Regions from separate parts of the Homo sapiens genome. Here region 1 is linked to region 2. Evidence: promoter capture Hi-C in 16 types of primary human blood cells and fetal thymus (Javierre and others, 2016). All regions are on one chromosome and are shown on one strand. Each heading gives the region's core, a stretch centred on a gene start or on the middle of the fragment in contact. The rest is flanking DNA. Distances are from core to core; before and after follow the strand shown. Region 1 overlaps TMPRSS13 (transmembrane serine protease 13). Region 2 holds the start of FXYD6-AS1 (FXYD6 antisense RNA 1).

Region 1 (7,874 bases), core at 2,635-5,134, 91 kb after region 2:
GACATAACCCTTCAGTGCCTGATTCCACATGTGTAAAATGGGCAGACCTTACCTCCTTCCCCCAGATAAATGGGTGATACACATGAAAGAGCCTGGTCTATAAATGTGTGTCAAACCATGACAAAGATAACAGCCCACGAGCACTTTACGGGACCCCATTCCAACCTCTTGACAGCTCTTTGCAGTTGGTATGGTTAGCCTCATTTTATAGATATTGAAACAGAGGTCCAGGCAGGTTAAGAACATGCCCAAATTCACACACCAGGTAAGTGACAGCTCAGATTCTAACCAGGCCTGCTTGGAGCAAGGAGGGCCTTGACCTACAGTGTCACAAACATCCACAGGACCTACCTTCGTCTCTTCAGGGCTCGTATGTGCAGTTTTGCACCATTATGTGATTTGATTCTCACAAGTCTCTCAGTTAGCAAGCTGGGCAGGAATTACTATCCCCAGTTTGTACACAAGGACCCGGGGCTCAGAGAGACGAAACAGCCCACCTCACCCCCTGAATGAGCTGGTGGTCTTTAGGAACTCTAGCACAGTCGTCTCATTCCCAGGCAGCTCAGGCTGTCTCTACCTGAACAGAACCCTCCCATCCAGCCCCAGCTGCCCCATCTTGAAGAGGCCCAGAGGAAAATGGGTGGGCAGGTGGGGGGAGGGAGCTGGGGAAAGCTGTAAAGCTGGAACAGGAGAAGGGAGTCAGACCAGACAGGGAACTGGTGGGGAGGGGGCATTGGTGGAAAGCCAAGAACTGCAGAAAGGGCGACACATCCGAAAGTGGGATGGAGTCTCTGCAGGCCCTGGGTCTGGGGGTATCTAGCTCTGGTCTGGGTAGAGCAAGTGCTCTGCTGTCAGAGCCTGGGAGGCAGGTGGAAAGTGGCTGGACCCCAAGACCAGGGCAAGAGGAGAGTTCTGGAGCCTCAAGACCTGAAGAAGAACTGCCCATGAAGAGAACTACAAGTCCCAACAGGGACATCAGGATGGAAGGGCAGCCCCCAGACCAGAGGAGAGCAGCATCCAGAGTGAGGTCCCCGCTCCACCCCCTGACTCTGACCCTCAACCCAAACCCTCCCAGACATCAAGAAGAGTTCTCATCTTCAGGGATCATCTGAGTAAGAGATTCCACACCAACCTTCTTTAGGCACTTCACGGCCTGCTGCCCCACGCTGCTGGAAGTTCTTCTGGATACCTAACCTGTTATAGCACTAACTCATTTCTTTTCCCCAATTCTTGGAGAACAACTGCTGAGACTCTAGCCTCCCACCGCTGGCCTGATCTCACCCTCAGAGTAGAGGCCTTCAGCAGCTGGGGAATAGGAAGGGGAGGAGACTACTTGTTTGTTTGTTGTTTGTTTGCTTTGAGACAGAGTCTCACTCTGTCGCCAGGCTGGAGTACAGTGGCGTGATCTCGGCTCACTGCAACCTCCACCTCCCGGGTTCAAGTGATTCTCCTTCCTCAGCCTCCTGAGTACCTGGGACTACAGGCACGCGCCACTGTGCCCAGCTAATTTTTGTATTTTTAATAGAGATGGGGTTTCACCATGTTGGCCAGGATGGTCTCGATCTCTTGATCTTGCGCCCGCCTCAGCCTCCCAAAGTGCTGGGATTACAGGCGTGAGCCACCGCGCCCAGCCGAGACTTCTTATCCAAGGTCCCAAGCTACAAGGGGCAGAACCAGGACCAGAACCCAAGCTTCCCAAATCCTGGCCTTTGGCAGTGAGCCGAAGACTCAGAAGTGGAAGTGAAATGACCAACTCCTTGATGTGTCCTGGTGTCTCCACAACCTGCCTGCAGACCAAAGGCTTCTCAGCCTGCTCAGGGGCAGGTGCACAGGGTGGAGCAGGGGAGTGTGGTCAACTCTGAGCCACATCCCTGGCCTAACCTTGCCAACCATTCTTTCCTGACCATGCCTCTCCTCCCCACCTACCCGTGGGGTAGTCTCTGAGGTTACCCCCTGCAGTAACACAATTGTAAGCCCTTACCATGACATGGAACAGGCCCACACCCCAGGCTGTCACTGCTACCACCTGGCTATGCCTCTGCAGCTCCCAAGGGTCCTCACCCAAGGCTTGTTCAGGGCCCTCCAGACGTGTTGGGGCAGGAAGGCAGGGCAGGGGTCCGCAGGAAAGCGGTAAGGGACAAGCCAGGGAGGGCTAAAAGGAGCAGCCCCTGGCTCTGGGAGTCTTTCCAAAGCCTGTCCCTGGACAGAAGTCTATAAGCATTTTTACTCCCACTTTACAGACTGAGAGGTAGAGGCCCAAAACATTTGTGTGCTTTGCCCAAAGTTGTTCAGGCCCATCTCACAGCAGAGGAGGGACTAAACCCAAGGCCCCCCACTTCCAGCCCAGGGGTCTCGACACCACAGCTCCCAGGGTTAGATCCCCCCTGAGGCGAATGGGATGTTTTTCTGGTTTCCAGTTGCAGACTCTGCCCCTTGGGCCGTTACCTGGTGGGGATGGTAGTAAGTTAGCCAGCCCCTGAGTATGTCCAGCTCTTGTCCTCTCCTGGACCTTCTGGGGGCCCAGCCAGTGAGAGAGGGGGCCTGAGTGATGTGGGCTCATGGTTGCTTCATCTCAGTGGTTATGGAGCTGCTGCTGTGGATCGAGCCCCAGGCTCTGCATAATGAGAGTTCTTCAGCCATAAGCAGCAGCCTGAACTTGGGAAATATGCACTTCAGGTCCCCCAGAGCCTGGGCTTGCAGTGTGAACCACCCTATAAAAAGCTCTCCCGCAATTGAACAATGAGAACACTTGGACACAGGATGGGGAACATCACACACCAGGGCCTGTCGGGGAGTGGGGAGACGGGGGAGGGATAGCATTAGGAGAAATACCTAATGTAAAGGACGAGTTAATGGGTGCAGCACACCAACACGGCACATGTATACATATGTAACAAACCTGCACGTTGTGCACATGTACCCTAGAACTTAAAGTATAATAATTAAAAAAAAAAAAAAAAAAGCTCTCCTTCTAGTCCTGAAGAATGTCCAGCAGGGAGCAGTAGCTGCTTCATGGCCTGAGGGCGGGTGCATCAGGGCCCGTTTCAGTCCAGTTTAAGCCAATTGGGCCTCCCTCCTCAGCCCTGGGCCATCCCTTCGTAAAGCTACCACCCAGGGTTGGGCATATCACAGGCTGTCAGAGTTGCAAAGATTCTGAAAACCCTCTAAGCTGGGCGTGGTGGCGCCGGCCTGTAGTCCCAGCTACTTGGGAGGCTGAGGTGGGAAAATGGCTTGAGGCCAGAAGCTGAAGACCAACCTAGGCAACATAGCAAGACCCCATCTCAAAGAAAAGAAAAGAAAAGAAAAGAAAACCTACCCAAGCCCTTTATACTATTGTTGAGGCGATGAAGGCCCAGAAAGGCTGTGTGACTTGCTCACGGACACACAGCCAGGTGGGGACGGTGCCAATTCTAGAACCATGATCTTCTGGCCCCCATCCTTGGGCTGTTACACAACACTCTGCTCTTCCCCTCTCTGTCCCTTACCAGCCTCCATGAGAAAGGACCCTTCCCAGACAGAGGCCCCCGTGGCAGCGTCCCTTTTCCAGTGACCCTGGGCATCAAGGGCGCCCATAGGGTGGGCACGGGCAGACCATGGGCCAACAACCCAGCACTCTGGGCTAGGCAGGAAGAAAAACCCCTCACTAAACCCTTCTGGAAGCACTGGCGGCACTGAGAAAGATCAGGATCTCCCTTTGACAGAGCCTAAAAACCCTCCTTGCCTGTTGGGAACCTGGGGAGCCCTGGGGTTGTGGCAGGGGAGGCCTGAACCCTTCCCAGCGAGGGCCCGGCTGGACTGGGTGACTTTTTTCCCTTTCTCACGGCTAGACCCAGGCTTCACTGTACCTCCAGGTTCCCAAGGCCCTTTCCTACTCTCCCCCTCCCCGAACCCAGAGAAACCCCACAAATACAGGCTCTCCTCAGCACACAGGCATCTTCCCCACCACCTCCTCACCCAGCACCAGCATCTCCAGCACACACGCAGTATACAGCTCAGGGACTTGGGTCAGCCCTTGAGGCAGACTGAACTCTGGAAGGGGCCAGAGCTGCAGGGTCTGCCTCGCCCTGGGGGTGGGGGGCACGGGGAGCCTCGCTTCTGCTCCTAGGCCGCCGTGTGACCTTGGGGACAGTCACATCCTTCTCTGGGCCTCAGCTCCCTCTTCAATAAATTAAGGGTGTTGGACAATCAGCAGTTTTCAAACAGGGTTCCACAGAGCATTTCAGTTTCCGTGGAGGTGCCTTGCAGACCAGCTGGTGGGGACTGTGGTGGGCTCTGAGCCCTTACCCCACCTCAACAGAGAAGACCGACCTTTCAGTTTCATACAGCGGAGTCAACATAACATTCATTTGAACAAAAGAGGCAGCTGCTACAACGAACTTGAAAGGGACTGGCCAGAGTAAGTGCTGAAGTCCCTTCTAGTTTCCGATGCCTCCTGTGCACATGAAAAAGCTCAAGGAATCCCTGTTAGACCAGAATCAAGACGCCTCCTTGTTCATTCATTCGTTCATTCACTCATTCATTCATTCATTTATCAAATGCTGTAAAGAACATGGAGTGCCCACTATTGCCCAGCAAATAATGTTTGATTGCCCAGGAACTTGCTGCCTCAATGTTTCCCTGTGTCTGTGCCTTCTCTTGCTGCCAGTCCTAGGGTAGTGACACACTCAGGGCTGGTACATAATGGGGGCCCCTCTAAAGTTTTGGGTATTGCTTCCCTCCTAGGGAAACCAACCCCCATCTGGTGCTGTCAAGGCCTCCACTTGACGGCTAAAGCCAGGGTTCCCTGTGGTGGCTTCCCTCATGCCTGCACCACCAGTGCCCTGCCCACTTGGCCAGGCACATCCACCCTTGTTGTTGCTATACCAAGAGGAATCTGTTCTGCCAAAACAAGACACTTAAGCTAAGTGGCCATTGTTACATCAGTTGTCCTTCCCACCCAGCTCCCCAGCCCAGGGCCCAATACACACACTCCCGCACGCTTACGCTCACATCTGCCAAGTCTCAGGGGACAATGCAGGGGAAATCGAGGTGGCTGTGCCAAAGGAAGTCTGCTCCTCACCAATGACAACATGAAACAGAGGACAAGGTGAGGGCTGCACACCTGCAGGGGCACAGGGCAGGTACCAGGGTCCTTGGAGGACGAGGTGAAGGCTGCACACCTGCAGGGGCATAGGGCAGGTGCCAGGGTCCTTGGAGGACGAGGTGAGGGATGCACACCTGCAGAGGCATAGGGCAGGTGCCAGGGTCCTTGGAGGACGAGGTGAGGGCTACACACCTGCAGGGGCATAGGGCAGGTGCCAGGGTCCTTGGAGGACGAGGTGAGGGATGCACACCTGCAGAGGCATAGGGCAGGTGCCAGGGTCCTTGGAGGACGAGGTGAGGGCTACACACCTGCAGGGGCATAGGGCAGGTGCCAGGGTCCTTGGGGTGCCTGGGGCTGGGATGGGGCTGGGACACGGCATGGCAGAGTGACTTGACCCGCGGGTGAGCCATCTCAGGAACTGCCCAGCTCCTCTGGAAAGGGTGCCTTATCCTGGACCAGCGGTGGGCCCCCAGACGGTTCTCACCAATCCCTAGCACCTGTGGCCTTGGGCTAATTTGGAACCTGTTCCACTTGAAGAAGGCCCAGTATAAGAAAATCCACTCCACAAAGGAATGTTGCTTCATCAATGGGTCTAATTCAGTCTTTCTTTAATAAGCATTGCACTGCTCTGAGAATTAAAAATGAGAATTGAAAAAGCACAAAATACGCATTGTCAAGAACAAATCTGGTGTGGCGCACCTGTCATCCCCGTTCTATGTAATTCCAGACTGTCAGGGAGCCAGAAAGGAGCCTCAGGGGGGAATGTGTCCAACCCTCTTCTTTGGTGGGGAAGCTGAGGCACAGGTAGAAGAAGATGTTTGTCCAAATTTATAGGAGCCCACCCCAAATTCTAGGCAGTGATGATAAATTTCAACATTCTCTGACTCCATCTCTATCTATCTATCTCTATCTCTCTATGCCAGATGCTATTCTAAATGAGCCTTACTATGGGAAGGACACTATTTTGAGACTCCTTGAGGTAGGTATTATTAAATTAAGCTTAGCCTAAAGCTGCCTCCTTACATATTTTAAGTTCGGATCAAAAGGTTTCTCTGTACATAATGAACTATAACTCAACTGGACGTGTAAACAGACTGTAAACTACTCTTGTTAACAATCACCAATTTTGCACAATCAAAGGCAGCCAACTGTTCAAACAGTGTTCAAATAAGGCTATTTCTGTACCTCACTTCCTTTTTCCATACACTGCTTGCCTTTTTCTGTCCATAAATCCTCTCCGACCACGCAGCTGTGTGGGAATCTCTCTGAATCTATTCTCCTTCGGGGGACTGCTCCATTTGAGAATTGTTCTTTGCTCAATTAAACTCTGTTAAATTTAGTTTGTCCAACATTCTTCTTTTGAGAGTAGTATTATTATTCCATTTTACAGATGAAGAAACTAAGGTACAGAAAGGTGAAGTGGCTTGCCCAAAGCTGACGGGGAACATGGTCAGTTCTCTGTCCACCACGACATGCAACTTTCTTTTGAATATGAGAAACTGAGACCCTTCTCCACCTCTTTTCCAAGATCCCTCTGAAGATCCAGCAGCTGACAGAGGAGTGCCATCAGGCTCAAGCCCACTGGCCACCATCTTCCTCACGACATTTTGGAGTTGAGGGACAGAAATCACAATGCATCTCTCTGCAATAAAGCCCTCAAGGAGAAGGCACAAGCTCAGGTGACCAGCTTCTCCCAGACCACTCCTATTTAATCAAGGTTAAGAAACCTGCTGCAGATGGGAATACGAGCCCCAACTATAGGCTCACTCTCTCAGAGTTCCATCTTAAATAGGGGAGTGAAGTTAAGAACCTTAAATAAGAATGTAATGATTCCATTCTTCCATTCCAAGGTAAGTTTGGACAATCTTTTTTTCAGAATGAATATGGCACCTATCATAATATTTGACACTTAATTCATAGATTAATTGGGAGTTCCTCAAAGAAGTCTGTTCTCTGTCCTGTATCCCTCCAGCAGCCTTCATGTTGATCCCTGACTCTGAAGAGATGAGCTTCCTGGGAAGATATCGCCCCATCACCCTGTCTCAGGGATGGACTATCCATCTCCAGTGGGAGCATGGCCACCCTCCGGATAGCTCAGCCCTTCTCACTCTTGGGTTTAGGGACCATCTAGTTTAGGCTCCCAGCATATTGCCAAGGAGGATGCCCCATGGCTGTGACTAAGGGTTCACCTTCTGCATGCCCTTGTGTACCCCCCTTACTGCTCAACAGTAAGAGGCTCTGATAACCCCCCAAGGCCTAGGGCCAAGTGACTTTGGTGAGGTAGAGACATGAACGAAGGAGCCCAGAGCAGAGGGCAAGGGAGGCAGCCTGGGAAAGAAAAGTCAAGAGGGGGCTGGAAGAATGGTGGGAAAAAAATGATGGTAAAGTTTGCAGAAACACATTGGGGGTGCAGAATGGACCACAAGCCAACTATAAGCCAAAACATAGGATGAGCTGATCTTTCCCAAACCCAGTGCTAGCCCATTCTTCCCAGAGTCCCAGGCTCTACCATGTCGGTAAGGTACAGAGAATTTGGAGGGGGCAGAAAACAAGACCTAAAGGAGAAATGAGAGCACAAAAGGGATTTCCTGGAGGAAAAGAAAGTGGAGGCACAGCAGAACAAGATCTTTGGAAGCCTTCATGTGTGTATGACTGGCTTTCCCACAGAGGACAGGCCAGCTGCTTTCTCCTACCCCAAGAGCAGCAGAAGAAAGGAAGTTGAGTGGTAGCAGGACTTGTGGTTAAACATCAAGAAGCACTTCCCAAGCATGAAAGTTATTAAGTCCAAAAA
Region 2 (7,386 bases), core at 793-3,292:
CAGAGCTCTGGGAGATGTTGGGAGGTAGAGGCAGTGCCCACTCCTGGATGCGTCAGCACTGTCACAGCTGATGGGACCGTGCCCTCAGTGGCGAGGCCTCCATCTCCCCTGTCTCCCCTAGGCAGGCCTCCCTTTTGTCTCCTGACTCCTAAGTCTCAGGGCAGTCATTTGGGGTGGTCGTTGCTGGGTTGGTGGGGCAGGGAGGAAATAGGCTGGAATCCAGCTGACCTCTGTTTTCCTGGTGATCAAAGGCAGAGGCCCTCACCACCAGCTTCCCAGAATGGGGTTCTCCAGCTCCGCCAGCTCTGGCCTTTGTGGGAGTTTACAGCCTTGAACTCCAGGTCCCCAGATCAGTTCCTCCTGGTGTTGGCTTGCAGCTGGAAAGGGGCTCCAATGAAGCAGAAGCCAGAAGCACCTAGAAAGCCATGACCCCAGGCCCAAGTCAGTCCTCAGCTGCATAACCCGTATGGCCACTGGGCAGGGAAAGTGGCAGTTCCCAAGCCCCATTTGTCCCACTCAGAGGTCCTGAATCCTGAGGAACGCTGGCTCCTGCCTCCTGCTATGGTTGCAGGTGCCAGGTCCCTGGGGTCTTATAAGGCAGGGCTGGAAGGAGGTGGGCCCCAGAGGGTCCATTCCTTAAGTGTTGGCTTCAAGAAGGCCTGAGCCATGGTGCACAGAGGTTCTGAGAACTGCCAAAGGGCAATGTACTCTGAGAGTCAAGGTCACCAGCTGGTGACAAGGGCAAACCCATTTGACCCACCTCCCCCACAGTGAATGCCTTGGAGAGAAATGCATTCTTGACTGTTCTCAGAACTCACATCCAGGCTTGAACCACAACAGAGCCCATTCCTCTCCAGCTTTTCTTGGTTTTCTCCTCCCAGTAACCAAACTCCCTCTCACCTCTGGGAGAGGCTCGCCACCTCCGGGAAGACCTCGCGGAGCAAGCCCACCCCTGGTTACTCTTACCTTCCCTCCACCACCTTCCGGATGCCACTGACATGGCTTGAATGGCCAGCATGTGGCCGTGTCACCATTCTCTTCATTTATAGCACAGATTGCCAAGTCCCTGGCCTCCTTGAGGCCTCAGGTCGGGTAAGCTGTTAAACGTTTGTACCTGCACTGAGCCTGGTGCCCACTCTCCACACTTGGCAGCAATTCCACCCTATTCCAGGGTCTCAGTGGTTCCAAAGAGCTGCTTAGAGCCTCCCAACAATTCAGCCAGGCAGGCTGTGAGATGCCCATTTTACAGAGGACACTGCAGGTGGTCTGCAAACAGGTCAGAACATGAACCCAAGTCTAACAGAGACAAGAGGAACCCGGCCATCAGAGAATGAGGAGACAAGGAAATGGATAGTGATGCCAACATTTATAGCATAATGGCTACATGGAGAATTGTCACGGTGCTTCGATGTCCATTGTATCACTTTGACCCTGTGAGATAACAGAAAACATCTTGATGCATTTATTTTATAGGTGATGAAACTGAGGCTTAAGTGGCTTTTCCAGGGTTACACAGTGAGCAGGAGGCCCAGCTTACCCCAAAGCTAGGAAGGACTTGATTATTCAGAAAAGGAAACTGACAGAGAGGCTGGGGTCTTTCCAAGCTCACACTGTTAGAGCAGAAGGGACCTCGGGGATGTTCTGAGCCTCAGGCTCTACCAGACTGCCTCCAAGCCCAGCTCAGAGGTAGGAAACCGTTCTTCTGGATAGTGCAGGGGGGCCCACCCCCTCCAGTCCCTGCCATCCAGGTCCTTCAGGACATGCGATCACAGCATCACCTGCTCTGCCATCATTGCCTTGGCAGGTGCCCCACTGTTGTGCAACCAGGCCCGGGGCTGGGCTGGCCCCATCAGATCAACAGCTGGTTGGCTTGAGCCGGCTGAGTCTGCCCCCCTGGAGCTCAGCTGTGACAGCAATAAATCACACTAATGGAGAGAGGTGGCCATTCCTTCTCTGTGGCCTGGAGACAGGTTTTTCCAAAGCTCCTCCCCTGGCTCAGGCAAACACACCTGACCTTTCTCTCGCTGGGCCCAGGGTGAGGCAGAGCAGCCAGGAACAAGGTGGGGTGAACCAGACAGAGCTGGAGTGCTCTCCCACCCCTGCTTTGCCCAGCCTCCCCGCCAAGCCCATGATTCCAAGCAAGGTAAGGCCCTCCTCCCAGAGGAAGGGGCCAACAGCCCGGTGACCTTGGAGTGTGCTTCGCCTGGCACTCCCCTCACACCGCTCCCTACAGCTTGTACTCTGCCTCTGACTCTCTTCCAAGAACAATTTGGCAAGTTCTAATCTACATCTTGCAAAAAAAAAACAAAAAACAAAAAACAGAGAGGTAGGAGGGCCACAGCACCTGGGGTCCCAGAAGGCAGACTGACCTATTCCTACAGCAGGGGTAAGTAACGCAGAAAACCTCCAGGCAAAGAGACATGGAGATCTTCGAAATGGAATGGGGGGTGGAGGGAGTCACTGGGAGGCAAAAGGTGTGGGACACCTGAGGTTACTGAGACAGGGAACTTGGGATTCCCTTCTGGGAAATGACACAGCATGGCAGCTGTCCTTCTTATTCAGTCAAGCTACATTGCCTCATTAAACCAAATCACAGCTACAAACCAGTGCCACATGCCTGGAGGCTGAGTGGACACTCCTGGTCCTCCTCATGGAGATATATAGCACTCTGAGTTCTGATCCAGCTCATCTGTGTGAAGTCCTCAAACAAGCACATAGTAAGTGCTCCATAAACTTCAGCTGCTCATTTTTTTTAATTATTACCATTTTGACCATCATTTCTTCGATTGTTCTTCATGTGTCTTGTTTCCAGACCATTAGACTCCCACAGGAGGCTCCTTGGAGCATGGTCCAGCTAGTTTATGTCTTGAAGGGGCAGCCATGCTCCAGGTGCAGTCTTGGGAGCCATCTGATCACTGTCCCTTCTTCTGAGCATCTGCCTGCTGAAGGAGGCTAGGCCATGTGCTGACAAGCACTATGGACAGACAGCCCGGGGTCAAGTCCTAGCTCCTCCATCCCCCAGCTGTGTAACCTGGACCAGGACGATTGTATCTCTGACCAATCTCAGAATATAGCTGGATTACTAGGAGGAAAACTAAGTGAGTGCTTAGAGGCGGGCAAAGTAAGGATAACCATTTGTAGATGATGTGCTAGAGATGCTGACCATCATTCCTTACTCTTAACATAATTATTATGAGAAAAATTAGAACCTCCTCATTGGACTTCCTTATTCCTATGTCGAAGTATAATGTTCTGTTTTTACTAACGTATGGGGGGCGGCACACACAAAGCTTTGCATGTCTAGGGCCTCTAGGGATCTCAGCCTGGCCTCGCTATGAAATTTCTGCAAGGCCTGTCAATTCCCTGATGTATCACGAGTGTTCCCGAACAATAAGCTCATTTACCAGGTCTTGCTGTGACCAGATAGTTTTTAATCGCCATGATCACTGGGTTGACAGGTTGAGCTTGAGCTCTACCATAAGCCTGTGTCTTTCCAAAGGCCTGGGGGACCGAAGGCAGAAGCAAGAGCACACGTAGAGAAGGCACCGAGCAAGCGGATCTGTGCGGTTCTTCGGTTCTAAACAACTTGCGGAATCCAGGCGGACTCAGGGCCTGTGTGGCCACTGGGCAGGGAAGGTGGTGGTTCCCAGGCCCATCGAAACCACAAGGAGCACTGACTTCTGTCTCCTGCTATAGCTTCAGGTGCCAGGTTCACTGGGGTCTTAGAAGTTGGGGCTGGAAGGAGGTGGGCCCAGAGGGTCCCGCTCCTTAAGTGCTGGCTTCAAGATGGAAGATATTAAGACGTTCCAGGGGTCGATTCTTTTTTCAAGACCCTAAGATGTTCCAGGCTTCTGTAGAGCAGGCACAGTCCTTGCCCTCCAGGAATTGTATCAATAAAGACACAAAACACTAGAGGCAGAAGCTGCACACAGGCAACCTCCACGCAGAATCTGCCCACATCTGTGTTGGTTTGGCCAACAGTGGTTTTTAGAAAGTTGAGTCAGAGTGTCTTTGGGAGGACACCGTAGGTGACTGCAGGTGCCATGCCCCATCGTCACTCCAGCAGATTCACATATTGGCATTACCTGCCTGGTCTCTACAGTCTGGATGCCAAGTATGAAGTGTGAATATAAAGGCAGCAAACAAGTGTGATTGGGGCACAAGAAAGGGATTCGGCTGGGCGCTGTGGCTCACGCCTCTAATCCCAACAATTTGGGAGGCTGAGGCAGGCAGATCACTTGAGGCCAAAAGTTCGAGACCAGCTTGGACAACATGAAGAAATCCCGTCTCTACTAAAAATATAAAAATTAGCCGGGTATGGTGGAAGGCACCTGTAATCTCAGCTGCTCAGGAGGCTGAGGCAGGAGAATCGCTTGAACTCAGAAGGCAGAGGTTGCAGTGGGCCAAGATAACGCCACTGCACTCCAGCCTGGGCGACAAGAGCAAAACTCCATCTCAAAAAAAAAAAAAAAAAAAAAAAGGGATTCGATTCTACCTAATGCCCAGGGAGGCTCCACAGAGGAGGGGTATTTCACAATCCACGTCACCCACCCTGTCACTCCCTTGATCCCTTCCTTCCTTTTTTCTTTTTAGAGACAAGGTCTCATTCTGTTGCCCAGGCTGGAGTGCAGTGGTGCAATCACGGTTCACTGCAACCTGGAACTCCAGGGTTCAAGCAATCCTCCTGCCTCAGCCTGCCGAGTAGCTGTGACAACAGGTGCGAGCCACCATGCCCAGCTAAGATTTCACCATGTTGCCCAGCTGGTCTTGAACTCCTGGCCTCAAGCAATTCTCCTGCTTTAGGCTCCCAAGTTGCTGGAATTACAGGTATGAGTCACCACCCCTGGCTCTCTTTACAAGTCCTTAGGTAGTGGCCCCAGAACTGACCAAAGAGAAATGTTAGGATGTTTTACTCCAGGCCACTGAGTACTTGGAGAAGCCATTGTGACTCCCTTTTTTGCTCCAAGACAGTGTGCAATGTACAGGTCCTGCTATGGGATGTGGCTTGAGCCCAGTGGCCTGGGAAGGCGGGAGAGAGGGAGGGAGGAATAGAAATGGCGGGAAGGTGCGGGACGAAGGGCTGAGCAGGAGGAGAGGAAAGTGAAGGAAGAAAAGGAAAGGAGGGAAGAGAAGCGGGGAGGAGGCAACAGTGACAGCAGCTGACGGGGCTCTGTGCCTGCCTGGGTGGCTATCCAGTCCTTCCTCTTCCCTCTGACCATGGACGGACTCCCTCTAGCCCTTTAAGTTCCACAGACCCTACAAACACTCAAGTTCTTTCACAGAAAGGAAAGCACCTCCGAGCCACTAGGAAACAAAGGATATTTTATTCCTTTTTTCTGTTGTTGTTGAGGATAGATCACGATACAGAGAACAGCAATGGGTCACAGCGCACGGTTTGGTTGGTTTCCGCGGGAACACAGAGGACAGGAGGGGCGGGATCTGGGTTGAGTTCCCACTCTCGTTATGACCTTCAACCTCTCACTGTTCCCAAGGGCTGCACGGAGCCTGCTGAGTCTCCAACCCACCTCGCTCACCGCTCTGACCACTGACAGGCAGAGCAAAGGATGCGGGAGTTGCCTCTGCTGCCCATCTAAGGGGACGTAGGCAGAGAAGCAAAGGCCTCTGCTCTCCCTCCATCCATCCCGGTGTGCTGGCCCCAACGGAACAGGAGTCCTTCAACTATTGCCTGCCAGAGACCCAATTGCAGGGACTGTAGTCTGCATCTGGATGAGCTGGGCTGTAGATTGAAGTCTCAGAAGCAGGGAAGGTTGGAAGGGGTAGGGTCCCAGAGCCCATGGAGTTATTGCTGAGAAGATATGCAGGGGACACATTCCCCAGGGGCAGAGTAGAAGCCCTGGGCCTGGAATCCCCGGGCGCTCTGTGAAGGGGCGGGGCAGATGGGGACTCCTCGTGGAAGCCCCTGGGAAGAAATTAACCACGGAAGGGCATAGCCTGCCTGACGTCAACGCTGGGCTCACCAGCTCCTTGCTTTGTATCTCCAGTTGCTAAGAGACCTTCAGACTGGGATCAGGTGGGATAAGGAAGCAAGGTTTTTGTTAAAGGAGTGAAAGGAGTCCATGAAGAATGATGACAAAGTGCTGCAAACCTTCCCAGGTCCCAAGACGACTGAAGACCACTGCCCGTGCTCTTACCCTACGCATCCCTAAATCAGGGGAGGGGGCTGGTCTCGGGCAACAAGCAGCCTCCTAGGAGCAGAAGGTGATGGAGGGCCACGGGGGCAGGGAGGAGCAGATGGCCATGTGGCTCAGCCCCTGCCTGGGAAAGCGAGTCCACAGTTCACTAACAAACACAATACCATCCACAAACAAGTAGCCACAAAGACCACAGTTAGCAAACACACACAGTCACACACACACACACACACACACACATCACGGGAGGTGGGCAGGACCGCAGGCTGCAGTGGGGAGGCAAGTGTTAGTTGCATCATCAGGTGGAGGAATGGTGTTAGAGGGGATAGGGTGGGGGACACACAAGTTCTTGGCTTCTCCTGGGGAAAGGGCTGTTGCTGAAGTGGCCGGTTTTCTTAAGCATCGACATTTGCATCCAAAGGTTCAAGCAGCCGCCTCAGGTTCCAGAGGCTGAGGAGGAGGATAATTTAAATTAAAAACACTTCGGCTGCCTCTGGTATCCTTATCTGCTTCTCTCCCTTCCTTGAGCACCTGCCCACTGAAATTCCCGGTATGACAGCCTCGTCTGAGACGCAGAGAAAGGAGACAAAGACACAGGGGAGGGGTGAACCTCAGAAGAAGCCTCTCCCAGGTGGGCTGGAGCCTGGCAGACATGGAAAGGAAATTGTTAAACCCAGGACCTCCCCAGTGGTTGCTCACAGTCCTGAGCCTTAGGATAAAAGGTTTCTGAGAAAGAACTAGTTTGGGAAAAAAAAAATGAAAAGACATTTCATTTCCAGGCTGCCTCCTCTGAGCCTTCCCAGATTCTCAGTCTGTGATGAAATAGACAGAACACCAAGCTACCAGGAAGGGCACCTGCCTCCTAGATCGGAATCTTCGTCCATTCGCACTTAGGTGATCACTTGCCTTCGAGAGCCCCATCCAGAAGACGGGAGTAATGAGCCCTGCTCTGCCCATCACGGGCCGCTATGAGGATGCAAAAGCACTTAGGAAAGAATTTAAATGCTACACAGGCACACGATATTGTTACGCACAGTCAAAGCTGGTGCATCGGGCACTTCATCATCCAGAAACCTCTTTTACCTTACAATGTGAGATAAACTTATATACCTTTCTATAATGCCTTACTTGTATGGGGGGAAAAAAAGGCAGAAGTGAGCTGACAAAACACAAACCTTTTCCCTTAGGATATTCCAGGGCATGTCATAAAGCGAGACGCACAGGACAGAGGGGA

The links. The method cuts DNA at HindIII sites, captures the fragments that hold promoters and counts their contacts. A CHiCAGO score of 5 or more calls a contact.
Region 1: a fragment that was not itself captured here is called in contact with the fragment with the promoter of FXYD6-AS1 in region 2 in 7 of 17 cell types (total CD8 T cells, M1 macrophages, megakaryocytes and 4 more); the score reaches 6.1 in total CD8 T cells.

The regions. Positions count from the first base shown.
Region 1 is chr11:117,920,895-117,928,768 of GRCh38, forward strand. All of the region lies in intron 1 of TMPRSS13 (transmembrane serine protease 13), which reads right to left. Among named protein-coding and RNA genes, the nearest start is that of TMPRSS13, 4.6 kb to the right of the region's middle. The HindIII fragment of the contact is 4,391 bases long and covers 1,690-6,080 here.
Region 2 is chr11:117,831,676-117,839,061 of GRCh38, forward strand. FXYD6-AS1 (FXYD6 antisense RNA 1) reads left to right here and starts at 2,043. Exons shown (of 3, transcript NR_186291.1): 1 at 2,043-2,386; 2 at 4,594-4,827; 3 at 5,493-6,644. All of the region lies in intron 6 of FXYD6-FXYD2 (FXYD6-FXYD2 readthrough), which reads right to left. It overlaps FXYD6 (FXYD domain containing ion transport regulator 6), which reads right to left. Exons shown (of 8, transcript NM_022003.4): 8 at 5,306-6,602. The HindIII fragment of the contact is 9,424 bases long and covers 1-3,288 here.